3 separate regions of the Homo sapiens genome follow, and all the other regions are linked to region 3. Evidence: promoter capture Hi-C in human tissues and cell types (Jung and others, 2019). All regions are on one chromosome and are shown on one strand. Each heading gives the region's core, a stretch centred on a gene start or on the middle of the fragment in contact. The rest is flanking DNA. Distances are from core to core; before and after follow the strand shown.

Region 1 (3,665 bases), core at 339-2,838, 630 kb before region 3:
ACATACTAATTTGATATAGCAGTTCACACAAATAATTCATAAATAACTACATATTAGTGCATTAGGTGTACATGCTGAGAATATTTTTACTGCTAAGAGTATGTGGCAAAAATGTCTGATGCTCACTGATCTAGAGGAACTTTCCCATGGTGGGCAAGGGGACCACCTAAGAATGTGAACTGGTGCACTGACTGGAAAACTAGGAACTAACCTCACCATCCATCGGCAGAGGAATGGATCAGCTGGAGCATATTAAAGCAACGGAATACTATGCAGTGATTTAAATGGATGGATAAGAGCTACATATATCAACATGGGTAAAGATATATATAAAATATATATAGATACATATATATTATATATATTTTTTTCTTTTTTTTTTTGAGATGGGGTTTCGCTTTTGTTGCCCAGGCTGGAGTGCAATGGCGCGATCTCGGCTAACCGCAACCTCCGCCTCCCGGGTTCAAGCGATTCTCCTGTCTCAGCCTCCCAAGTAGCTGGGATTACAGGCATGTGCCACCAAACCTGGCTAATTTTGCATTTTTAGTAGAGATGGGGTTTCTCCATGTTGGTCAGGCTTGTCCCGAACCCCTGACCTCAGGTGATCCGCCCGCCTTGGCCTCCCAAAGTGCTGGGATTACAGGCATGAGCCACCGTGCCCGGCCATATACACGTATATATTTTTTGAGACAGGGTCTTGCTCTGTCACCTAGGCTGGAGTGCAGTGGCGCAGTCTTGGCTCACTGCAACCTCCGCCTCCCAGGTTCAAGCTATTCTCCTGCCTCAGCCTCCTAAGTAGCTGGGATTACAGGCGTGCGTGACCACGCCCAGTTAATTTTTGTAGCTTTAGTAGAGATGGGGTTTCACCATGTTGGTGAGGCTTGTCTCAAACTCTTGACCTCAGCTGATCCACCCGCCTAGGCCTCCCAAAGTGCTGGGATTACAGGCATGAGCGACTGCGCCCGGCCCAACATGGGTAAATATTTTAAACAACCTTGAGTGAAAAAGCACATTGCAGAATGAAAAGTACAGCATGCACACCAATGTGATATATTATGGATACATCCATATGTTGTAATATGTATTATATATGTAGCAATGTGTACTATGTTTAAAAACATTCAAGAAGAAAATAAACACCAAATTCAGGAATAGTGGTTACATCTGGGGAGAGAGGGGAGAAAATGAGGTTGGAGAAAGGGCTTCAAATTTGCTTTCTTTTACAAAAAGATACAAAGTAAATAAATATAACAGTTCAAAACCAGTCTCCTTCAGTTCTCCTCCTCAGTGGACAACCATTCTCACATATCCCTGGTGTATCTTTCCAGAGATAGCCTATGCACATACAAGGACACATATGTACATGTATTCCCCTACCCTAACTTCTTTTTAAATAGTGATGGTGGCAAGCATTACATATTGTTGATCTGTACTTTTTAAACAATGTATCTCGAACTTTGATACATGTCAGTGCATAAAGAGCTTCTTTGTTCTTTTTTTTTTTTTTTTTTCGAGACGGAGTCTTGCTCTGTAGCCCAGGCTGGAGAGCAATGGCATGATCTCCTCTCACTGCAACCTCTGCCTCCTGGATTCAAGCGATTCTCCTGCCTCAGCCTCCCGAGTAGCTGGGATTACAGGTGCTTACCACCATGCCCAGCTAATTTTTGTATTTTTAGTTGGCCAGGCTGGTCTCGAACTCTTGACCTCAGGTGATCCACCTGCTTTGGCCTCCCAAAGTGCTGGGACTACAGGCACCAGCCACCGCGCCCGGCCTCTTTGTTCATTTTTTTTTTTTTTTTTACAGCTGTGCAATACTTCTTTGTGTGGCTACCAGAGTTTTTGAACCAGTCTCATATACATAAAATGTAGACTATTCTTTTACTACAAAAAGCTTCACTACAATGAATATCCTTAGAAAAATGTGATTCTACACAAATGCACAGTTTTATTTTTTAAAGACAGAGTTTTGTTCTGTTGTTCAGGCTAGAATGCAGTGGCATCATCATAGCTCATGTAAATTTGAGCTCCTGGGCTCAAGTGATCCTCTTGCCTCAACCTCCTGAGTAGGTAGGACAAAAGACATGCACCACCACTTTTTTTTTTTGTAGAGCTGGGGTCTCATTATGTTGACCAGGTTAGTCTCGAACTCCTGGCCTCAAGCAATCCTCCCTTGTCAGCCTCCCAAAGTACTGGGATTACAGGTGTAAGCCAGTGTGCCTGGCCATTATACAAAATATTAAATCAAAATTTTTTTCTTTTTTTGAGACAGAGTCTCACTCTGTTGCCCAGGCTGGAATGCAGTGGCATTATCTCAACTCACTGCAACCTCCGTGTCCCGAATTCGAGTGAATCTCCTGCCTCAGCTTCTCAAGTGGCCAAGTAGCTGGGACTATAGGCATGCATTACCACACCTGGCTAATTTTTATATTTTTAGTAGAGACAGGGTTTTGCCATGTTGGCTAGACTGGTCTTGAACTCCTGACCTCAGTGATCCACCCACCTTGGCCTCCCTAAGTGCGGGGATTACAGGCGTGAGCCACCGCGCCCAGCCAACCACGCCCAGTTTAAACCACGCCCAGTTTAAACAGGCACCACGCCCAGTTTAAACCAAAAATTTTAAAAATAATTAATACTTAACACTATTAAATCGTATACTTAAAAATAGTTAAGATGGCAAATTGTGTATTTTACCACAAGTAAAGATAAAAATAAATGAATAACTTATGAACAAATTCCCAGAAGCAGAAATGCTGGGTCTTTTCAAACAAACAGTCCTCCAACAAGACCAGATCCATTTACTTTCTGCTCTAACATTTTCCAATGTCTTTTACCCAAGCACAGTTCAATACAGCATATTATCAGACTTTTTTGATCTGAAAAGCGGACGTGGTATTTCACTGCAATCTTAATTTGCGTATTTTATTTTTTGTAAGCTTTCAATTTGTCGCTTATCCATTTATATAATTTTTTCTTTTTTTTTGTTGAGACAGAGTTTTGCCCTTGTTGCCCAGGTTGGAGTACAATGGCGTAATCTCAGCTCACTGTAACCTCCGCCTCCTGGTTTCAAGCAATTCTCCTGCCTCAGCCTCCCAAGTAACTGGGATTACATGCGCCTACCACCATAGCTGGCTAATTTTTTTGTTTTTTTTGTTTTTTTTTGAGATGGAGTCTCACTCTGTTGCCCAGGCTGGAGAGCAGTGGTCAGATCTCGGCTCACTGCAAGCTCTGCCTCCCGGATTCGCGCCATTCTCCTGCTTCAGCCTCCCTAGTAGCTGGGACTATAGGCGCCCGCAACCACACCCAGTTAATTTTTTTTTGTATTTTTAGTAGAGACGGGGTTTCACCTATTATCCAGGATGGTCTCGATCTCCTGACCTCGTGATCTGCCCGCCTCGGCCTCCCAAAGTGCTGGGATTACAGGTGTGAGCCACCGCGCAGGGCCATTTTTTTGTATTTTTTTAGTAGAGATGGGGTTTCACCAGTTGGCCAGGCTGGTCTCGAACTCCCGACCTCAGTTGATCTACCCGCGTTGGCCTTCCAAAGTGCTGGGATTACAGGCGTGAGCCACCGTGCTTGGCCTTATATAATATTTTTTAAAGCATGAGCTATGTTACTTTTGTAGTAAAATAGCCATTGAGGATATTCTTAAAATTTAGGGTCTGGAG
Region 2 (3,730 bases), core at 416-2,915, 600 kb before region 3:
ATCCACTGTTATCTATTTTTACAGCTTACTCTGGCTAGTTCTCGAAGTTCATCCACAATTAAGCGATCAACTCTAGATGGGTTGGAAGTCAGCCTTGGAACTGGAGTGTTGTTAGTACTGGATACTTTTTTTCCAGGATAATTCTTGGCAAGGGCTAATTCAGTCTGTAAAAAATTACATACTTTTTAGATGTAGAATTTTCTAAATATGATTCGACCATGAATAATAGTTTTCGTAAGCCTAATAAATAGAGTATTACCACTTTAAATGAAAATTCTGTTTTGGTATCAAAAGACAACAAATGTAAACCACAATACCACAGTATTTTTCTATCTTTTTTTTTTCAGATGGAGTCTCACTCTATTGCCCAGGCTGGAGTGCAGTGGTGCAGTCTCGGCTCACTGTAACCTCCGTTTCCCGGGTTCAAGCGATTCTCCTGCCTCAGCCTCCCGCGTAGCTGGGATTACAGGTGCCTGCCACCACGCCTGGCTAATTTTTTGTATTTTTAGTAGAGACTGGGTTTCACCATGTTGGCCAGGCTGGTCTCCAACTCCTGACCTTGTGATCTGCCCACCTTGGCCTCCCAAAGTGCTGGGATTACAGGCGTGAGCCACCGCGCCCAGCTATCGTCTTAATACAAATAAAATACCTGAGTATACCAACAGGTTAACACTACAAAATTCAAAGAAATAAACTTGTAACAACTAAGGGGGTAAAAAATCTACTTCAGGGCAAGTCAACTTAGAATAACAATAACTTTAAAATGTCAAGCATTTTTCATCTTCATTTATTTAAGCTTCCCATTGGCCAACCCCATCCATTTTTAGTTTTTAAGTAACCCACTTAATTCCTTACAGTAATGAACTTACAGCAAATCCTGGACATTATAGAATTCAGCTCAGAAATAAGGCAAGTTAGCCGGGTGCAGTGGCTCACATCTGTAATGCCAACACTTGGGACATCAAGGTGGGAGGATGGCTTGAGGCCAGGGGTTTGAGACCACCGTGGGGAACATAGTGAAACCTAATGTCTACAAAAAATTAAAATTAGCCAGGCATGGTGGCATGTGCCTGTAGTACTAGCTACTCAGGAGGAGGAAGGATTGCTTGAGCCCAGGAGTTTGGTTACAGTAAACTATGATTCTGCCACTGTACTCCAGCCTGGGCAACAGAGCGAGACTCTGTCTCTTTAAAACAACAACAAATAAAGCAAAAAGAAATAAGGCAAGTACTCTTACACTACACTAAGGTAAACAGAATGAAGACAGGCAAAAGGAACATACTGTTATTCCTAAGTGGTTAACTTTGTGTTACCTTTTTTCTCTCTTTTTCTAATGCTCTCCATTGTTCACAGCACTCTTCTAGACGAATATGAAGTTCACTGGCTGGTCCACTACGGGTTTTAATTGGTCTTTGAAATCCAAAAGTTGGCATGAGACCAGAAAAAGAATTATCACCATACATCATATTAAAATAAGGGTACAAATGGCTTAAGTCATCATAAGAAAGTAAGTCATAGGAATCCAACAGTGGAACAACTGAATGGCCAAATGGGTGGGTGGATCTTAGGGGAAACCCATTTGAACCAAGTTGTTGAAAACACTGATTATGCCTTAAATCTCCCATCATATAATTATTAGAAAAGCATGACACTTGTGTGCGATTCACACGGCTATTGTCTCCACCTCTCGTTCTGTGGCTATTAGAATGACCCTGTGACTCCAGTAGATCTTGGTATGTATTTTGTGATAAGCCATCTAAATGCTTTGGACCTTCCTCAGGATCATAATGTCCACTCTGGGGCTTGGCTTGAAAATTATGTTTGTTTACATTTTCAATTATCCCATACTTCTGAGCTGAATAGTTATCACAAAATCCATTTGGCTGCTTTATTTTTTTATCCGTAACCAATTTGAAGAGATTTTCTTCTCCAGGCTTTGTTAGTCCTTCTATGTGATTGACAGATTGGATTCTTTCTGCACCACTGTAACTAAAATCAAAACTAGAAAATGCTGAAGGGTTTTCTTGGCAATATTTCTGAAATAAATTGCTATTTGGGGTTAAGTTTGTGGATGATAGTTGGGGGAAATCTGAAGAATGGTTAGAACCTTTTGAAGCTGCACTTAAATGACTATTTAATTTCATCAAGTTACCTTGATTTCGATAAGGAATAGGAGTGTTATTTTTTGTTTGAACATTCATCCAAGTTGGTCTGTTTAAATTGATACCTCCTGAAGATGTTGCTGAGTTTGATAATAAATTCACTGATTTAAAATACTCAGAATGTGGGGGATCAGGTTTAGCAAACTGTTGCTTTTCTGTGACGTTAGCAAAATCATTAGCGGGACAAGCTGTGTGAGGTTTTAGTCCATATTCTGATGTTAAGCCAAAATCAGCAGTGAATACTGCTTCCTTTGCAAACTGTTTCTCTGTCAGATGTGGCGTAGTTTTTGGAAATGTGAAATTCTGCTGATCAGGGATTGTCTCCTCCATTTTTTTCTGATTCGCTGGCTTAACCTGAAATAACTTTGTGTAGGTGTCTGCTTCTACAGTTGGTGTTTCAGGTGTGCCATTGGCTAATTTTTTGCTATCTTGGACACTAAAATTTGAACATTTATTAAGCTTAGCCTTATTAGGATGAACATACTCTGGGTATCTACAATAATCTACATTTTCATTGTATCTATTAAATTGAGAAAGAAACATCTCTGCCCTTTTTTGCTGTAGTGGTGCTTCAAGACCTTTAGTACATATTCTGTCTCTTCCATAATGGTAGATATCAACTCCTGATTCTTTCATGATATCAGACAGACCAGTTTGGGGTGTAAAACAGTTTTTGATAAGTGGATATTCTTGGAATGTTGTCTTAGCTGTATCATTTGTCTGAATATTGTGACAGTTAGAATGATCACTTCGTGAGGGGTACATCCATTGTTCTTCAAGATCTAAACCAGTAAATCCATGATGAAGTTCATCTATTTTTTGTTGTGGTGTGAGATTACTGTTACGCAGGTATTGCTTTTCCATTGCTGACACAGATTCATCACTATAAAAAGCTTGCTGAGAGATGACTGTATCTATTGGCCTTTTGGTTTCTGTTAAGAGGTCATGGTGATCTGCAAATCTGCTTGTGTTCATTGGCCAAACTGACTTTAAATTGGAGGAGCAGGTCCTAGAACAAATAAATATATTTAATTACAACTTAGGTTTTAAAGACTTTATTTCTTCAGTGGAAAAGGGAGAAAAGGTCTTCAAAAACATTTATCTTGCCCCATGTCACCATTCTCTAATCCCTTTCAACTCTGCTTTATAAGCTACCATTAGCTCCAGATAATTATCTGTCACATGAAATGTGCTGTATGTTACATAAATATGCATTTTAATGTCTTCGCTGTACTTTCCCAAGAGACAATAACTAAGGCCTAATATGTGACTTCATGGTCTTAGATGAATTATTTATCTATAGTAAGCAGAAAATAAGTTTTTCCTTTGCTTAGGTTATTACATAAAAGCATTGTTGACCACAGTTTTTTTTAATGAAAAAAATGTGTTTTGCTTAAACTTTGTGAAATTAAAATATTTTAATTGGTTATATGTGTGCTACATACTTCCCTATTTATGAAATAGTATATTTGGGTAATATAGCTTCCACACTTCAATAAAACAATTGAAACATTACAAAATTTTCTAACACATGAATAAAATCCATATGTATTTCTGCATAGTAGTAA
Region 3 (3,634 bases), core at 863-3,362:
CACCAAGTTCTCTCCTCTTAGGGGTCCTGGCCCGTGCAGTTCCCTCTGCCTGGAACATGGCCACTCTTTTTCCTTGCCAATCCTTCAGGTCTCAGTAGAGATTTTTCACTTCCTCCAAGAAGGCCTTTCCTAATGGCTCCTAGAAGTCTTATATGAAAACCTATAATCACGATTCCATATAAAAAGTGGAAAACTGGAATGGCAATTATGTATGATTTATTATGGGGGCCAGAACAAGGATGAGAGGCATGAAAGTTCTCTGAGGCCGGCCACATGGCTCACGCCCGTAATCCCAGCACTTTGAGAGGCCAGCCGAGGCGGGAAGATTGCTTGAGCCCAGGAGTTTGAGACCAGCCTGGCCAACATGGTGAAACCCCATCTGTACTAAAAGTACAAAAATTAGCCGGGCATGGTGGCTCGTGCCTGTAATTCCAGCTACTCCGGAAGCTGAGGCAGGAGAATCGCTTGAACCTGGGAGGTGCGGGTTGCAGTGAGCCAAGATGGCGCCACTGCACTCCAGTCTGGGTGACAGAGCGAGGCTCTATCTCAAAAAAAAAAAAAAAAAAGTTCTCTGAAAAAGCACACTATGAAGGAGCAGAATTTTTATTCCTATTATAATGAGTGTATCAATACTTCCAACACCAGGAAGTTTATGTTTCTTGGAGGGCAAGGAAATACTTTTGAACTTTGTTCAGGTTAAGCCGCGCCAAGACTGGCCCTTTGCTTCCCTCTGGACTAGAGAAAGGTCAACCTGTTTCTTATACATGAAGCGAGGATCCAAAATTTCTATAGTGAGCGGTGGGTGGGTTAGCGACAGCCATTGGTGGTAGTAGGGCTTGAAAATGCACGCTCATAGTCCTTTGCATAAGATTAAGAAAACGACTGTTTTGTACATCAGACGGACATTCAAGGGCAGGGGCGCAAAACCCCTCCTCCAAGCCCCTTTTTGTCACTATCCGCTGCTCCTCATTCCTGCCTTTTGCCTGGCTTTCTGGGAGAGAGGGCAAAAAGGGAGAAGGGGAAGTGTCTTGACTTCTAAGAGTGATGGGTGACTAAGGGGGAACTACCATTTATTAAAGACCTAGTACATGCCATGCACTTATACCCGTTACCGCATTTAAACCTCCTAACTATGAGGTAGGTATTATTATGTAACAGAGTATAGCAGTAAATAGCACCGTCCTTGGAAATAGGCAGACTGTTTTTGCTAGTTGTGGAACCGTGGACAAGTTTAGTCTAAAACTTAGTTTATGTAAAAGGAGGACATTGATTCCTACCTCAAAGGGCTGTTAGATGCTCAAGAAGTGACAATACAAATGCCTATGAAGAAACAGGATCAGGTAATTTGCTTGCTCAAGGTCAGGTGATTTAGTAAGAGGCTGACCTCGGATTCTGGTTCCAGCTTATCTAACTCCACAGCCAATGTTCTTTCCACTATCACTCAGTAGTTATAATCATCTTTTTTTGTTTGTTTGTTTGTTTTGAGACAGAGTCTCGCTCTGTTGCCCAGGCTAGAGTGCAGTGGCACAATCTTGGCTCAGTGCAACCTCCGCCTTCCAGGTTCAAGAGATCCTCCAGCCTCAGTCCCCCTAGTAGCTGGGATTACAGGCACGCGCCACCGTACCCGGCTAATTTTTGTATTTTTAGTAGAGACGGGGTTTCACCATGTTGGCCAGGCTGGTCTCGAACCCCTGACCTCAGGTGATCCACCCGCCTCGGCCTCCCAAAGTGCTGGGATTACAGGCGTGAGCCACCGCTCCCAGCCTTATAATCATCTTGTCCAAGTATCGTTAAGTCCTCTGAGGCTCTGATTCCTCATATGCAAAATGGGGTTAACATATTTTATAAAATTCATTCATTAAACTCTTGTGTGGAAGGTGTGCATATAATGGAGACTGCAGCTCCCTCCTCTTTCCCCTTTTCATTCCACGTAGGTCATTTATCCTTAACTTCTAAAATGGACTCTACAAGCACTTAACCGAGCGGACGCAGCTATACAAATACTTTTCAGATTCCCCTTTATTTCCTCTTCTTTCCCACTCCACCTAGGATCCCGCCCCAACCAGCGCCAGGCCACGCCCCGGCGTGTGACGCAAGCACGCTCCGTGCGCGCCGTCGCGTCGCGGCGCTCACTGGGGGCCCGGCTTTCGCCCGCTGCTGCCGCCGCCGCCGCCGGCCGCGGCTGCACTCCCAAGATGGCGGCTCCTCCGGGCGAGTACTTCAGCGTTGGGAGCCAGGTGTCGTGCCGGACGTGCCAGGAGCAGCGGCTGCAGGGCGAGGTGGTAGCCTTTGACTACCAATCCAAAATGCTGGCTTTAAGTATCCTTCCCTGCGTGAAGCCCGAGTCCGGGCCGGCGTGTAGGTGCGGTGGTCGGGGGGTGGGGGACGACGGCGGCGGCTGGGGCTCTCTCCGGGCCTAGGGGCGACCGGCTACCGCGGCGCCCGGGGCGCATGCGCACGGCCCTGAGCTCCCCTCCCCCTCCCGCGGGCCCTTCGGTCAGCTTTGGGGATCCTGTCTCTCTCTCTTTGCGGGAGCTGGGGCTTTACCGAGGATCAGTGGGTGGAGGAGGGCTTGACACGGGGATGGCTTTTTGGGGGGAACGTTATGAGAGGGGACACAGTAATTAGGAGAGGGGGTGGTGGTGGGAGGGGGCTGATGGATTGGAGCCCGGATGGAAAGGAGGGGCGGGTGAAATATTATGGGGAGGGGTGTTTAGGGTAAGGAACTGCTGGTAGGGCAAAGGTATGGAATTTAGGAGGGCATGTGCACTGATGGGATTTCGTCCAAGGAAGGGCGGTGGGATGGTGACCAAATTGGTCCTTGCCTGTTTTGGGGGAGAGTAAGTTCAGGGCAGAGTTTGTATCTGAGCTAGGGATAGTGGCTTGTTTCGCTGATGCGTGTGTATGTGTGGTGGGGGGGCTGTGCTGATTTTTAGGCTTCTCGGTCATTTGGAAGTTGCTGTTTAGGGGATGTTTGCACTGGAAACCTGTTCCAGAGAGGGCTTGCCAGGGGCTTATGTGGTTTGGGGATGTGTGAGTTACAGGTGAAAGAGTGAAGTTCTCATGCTGCCTTGATCAGTCCAGCACATGGAGTCCTTTTACGTAGTAGCAGCCTCCCTTTTGAAAGTAGCAATGTTAAACTGATTGGAAAAGGTGGCCTGCTTCTTTGGGGTGGAAGTGACTTCTGAATTACTCCAGGAAACTCAGTCTTGGAAATGAAACACTTCCTTGTTGGGATAAATGTGCCACGGCTTCCCTTTTTATGTGAGCCACAGGTGGGTTTATTGGAATTTTTTTTTGGAGGAGTAATTTTTTATGGCATCTTTTTTTTTTTTTTTTTTTTAAGATGGAGTCTCGCTCTGTCGCTAGGATGGAGTGCGGTGGCGCAATCTCGGCTCACTGCAACCTCCGACTCCCTGGTTCGAGCGATTCTCCTGCCTCAGCCTCCGGAGTAGCTGGGATTACGGGCACGCGCCACCACGCCCAGCTAATTTTTGTATATGTTTTTTTTTAACAGAGATGGGGTATCACCATGTTGGCCAGGATGGTCTCGAACTTCTGACCTCGTGATCCGCTGGCTTCAGCCTCCCAAAGTGCTGGGATTACAGGCCTGAGCCACCGCCCGGCTTTTTTT

Evidence for each region. Contacts are between HindIII fragments. The study calls those that stand out against the background at their distance.
Region 1: a contact is called between a fragment that was not itself captured here and the fragment with the promoter of LSM12 in region 3, in 1 of the 25 tissues and cell types used here (dorsolateral prefrontal cortex).
Region 2: a fragment that was not itself captured here is called in contact with the fragment with the promoter of LSM12 in region 3 in 1 of the 25 tissues and cell types used here (dorsolateral prefrontal cortex).

What each region holds. Positions count from the first base shown.
Region 1 is chr17:44,692,656-44,696,320 of GRCh38, reverse strand. No RefSeq gene overlaps it. Among named protein-coding and RNA genes, the nearest start is that of CCDC43, 4.7 kb to the right of the region's middle. The HindIII fragment of the contact is 6,435 bases long and covers 1-3,665 here.
Region 2 is chr17:44,665,817-44,669,546 of GRCh38, reverse strand. It overlaps MEIOC (meiosis specific with coiled-coil domain), which reads right to left. Exons shown (of 8, transcript NM_001145080.3): 5 at 1,314-3,171; 6 at 30-164. Among named protein-coding and RNA genes, the nearest start is that of MEIOC, 11 kb to the right of the region's middle. The HindIII fragment of the contact is 5,508 bases long and covers 1-3,730 here.
Region 3 is chr17:44,065,149-44,068,782 of GRCh38, reverse strand. It overlaps LSM12 (LSM12 homolog), which reads left to right and starts at 2,112. Exons shown (of 5, transcript NM_001371445.1): 1 at 2,112-2,319. The coding sequence starts at 2,196. RefSeq lists silencers at 2,030-2,149, 2,440-2,579. The HindIII fragment of the contact is 14,418 bases long and covers 1-3,634 here.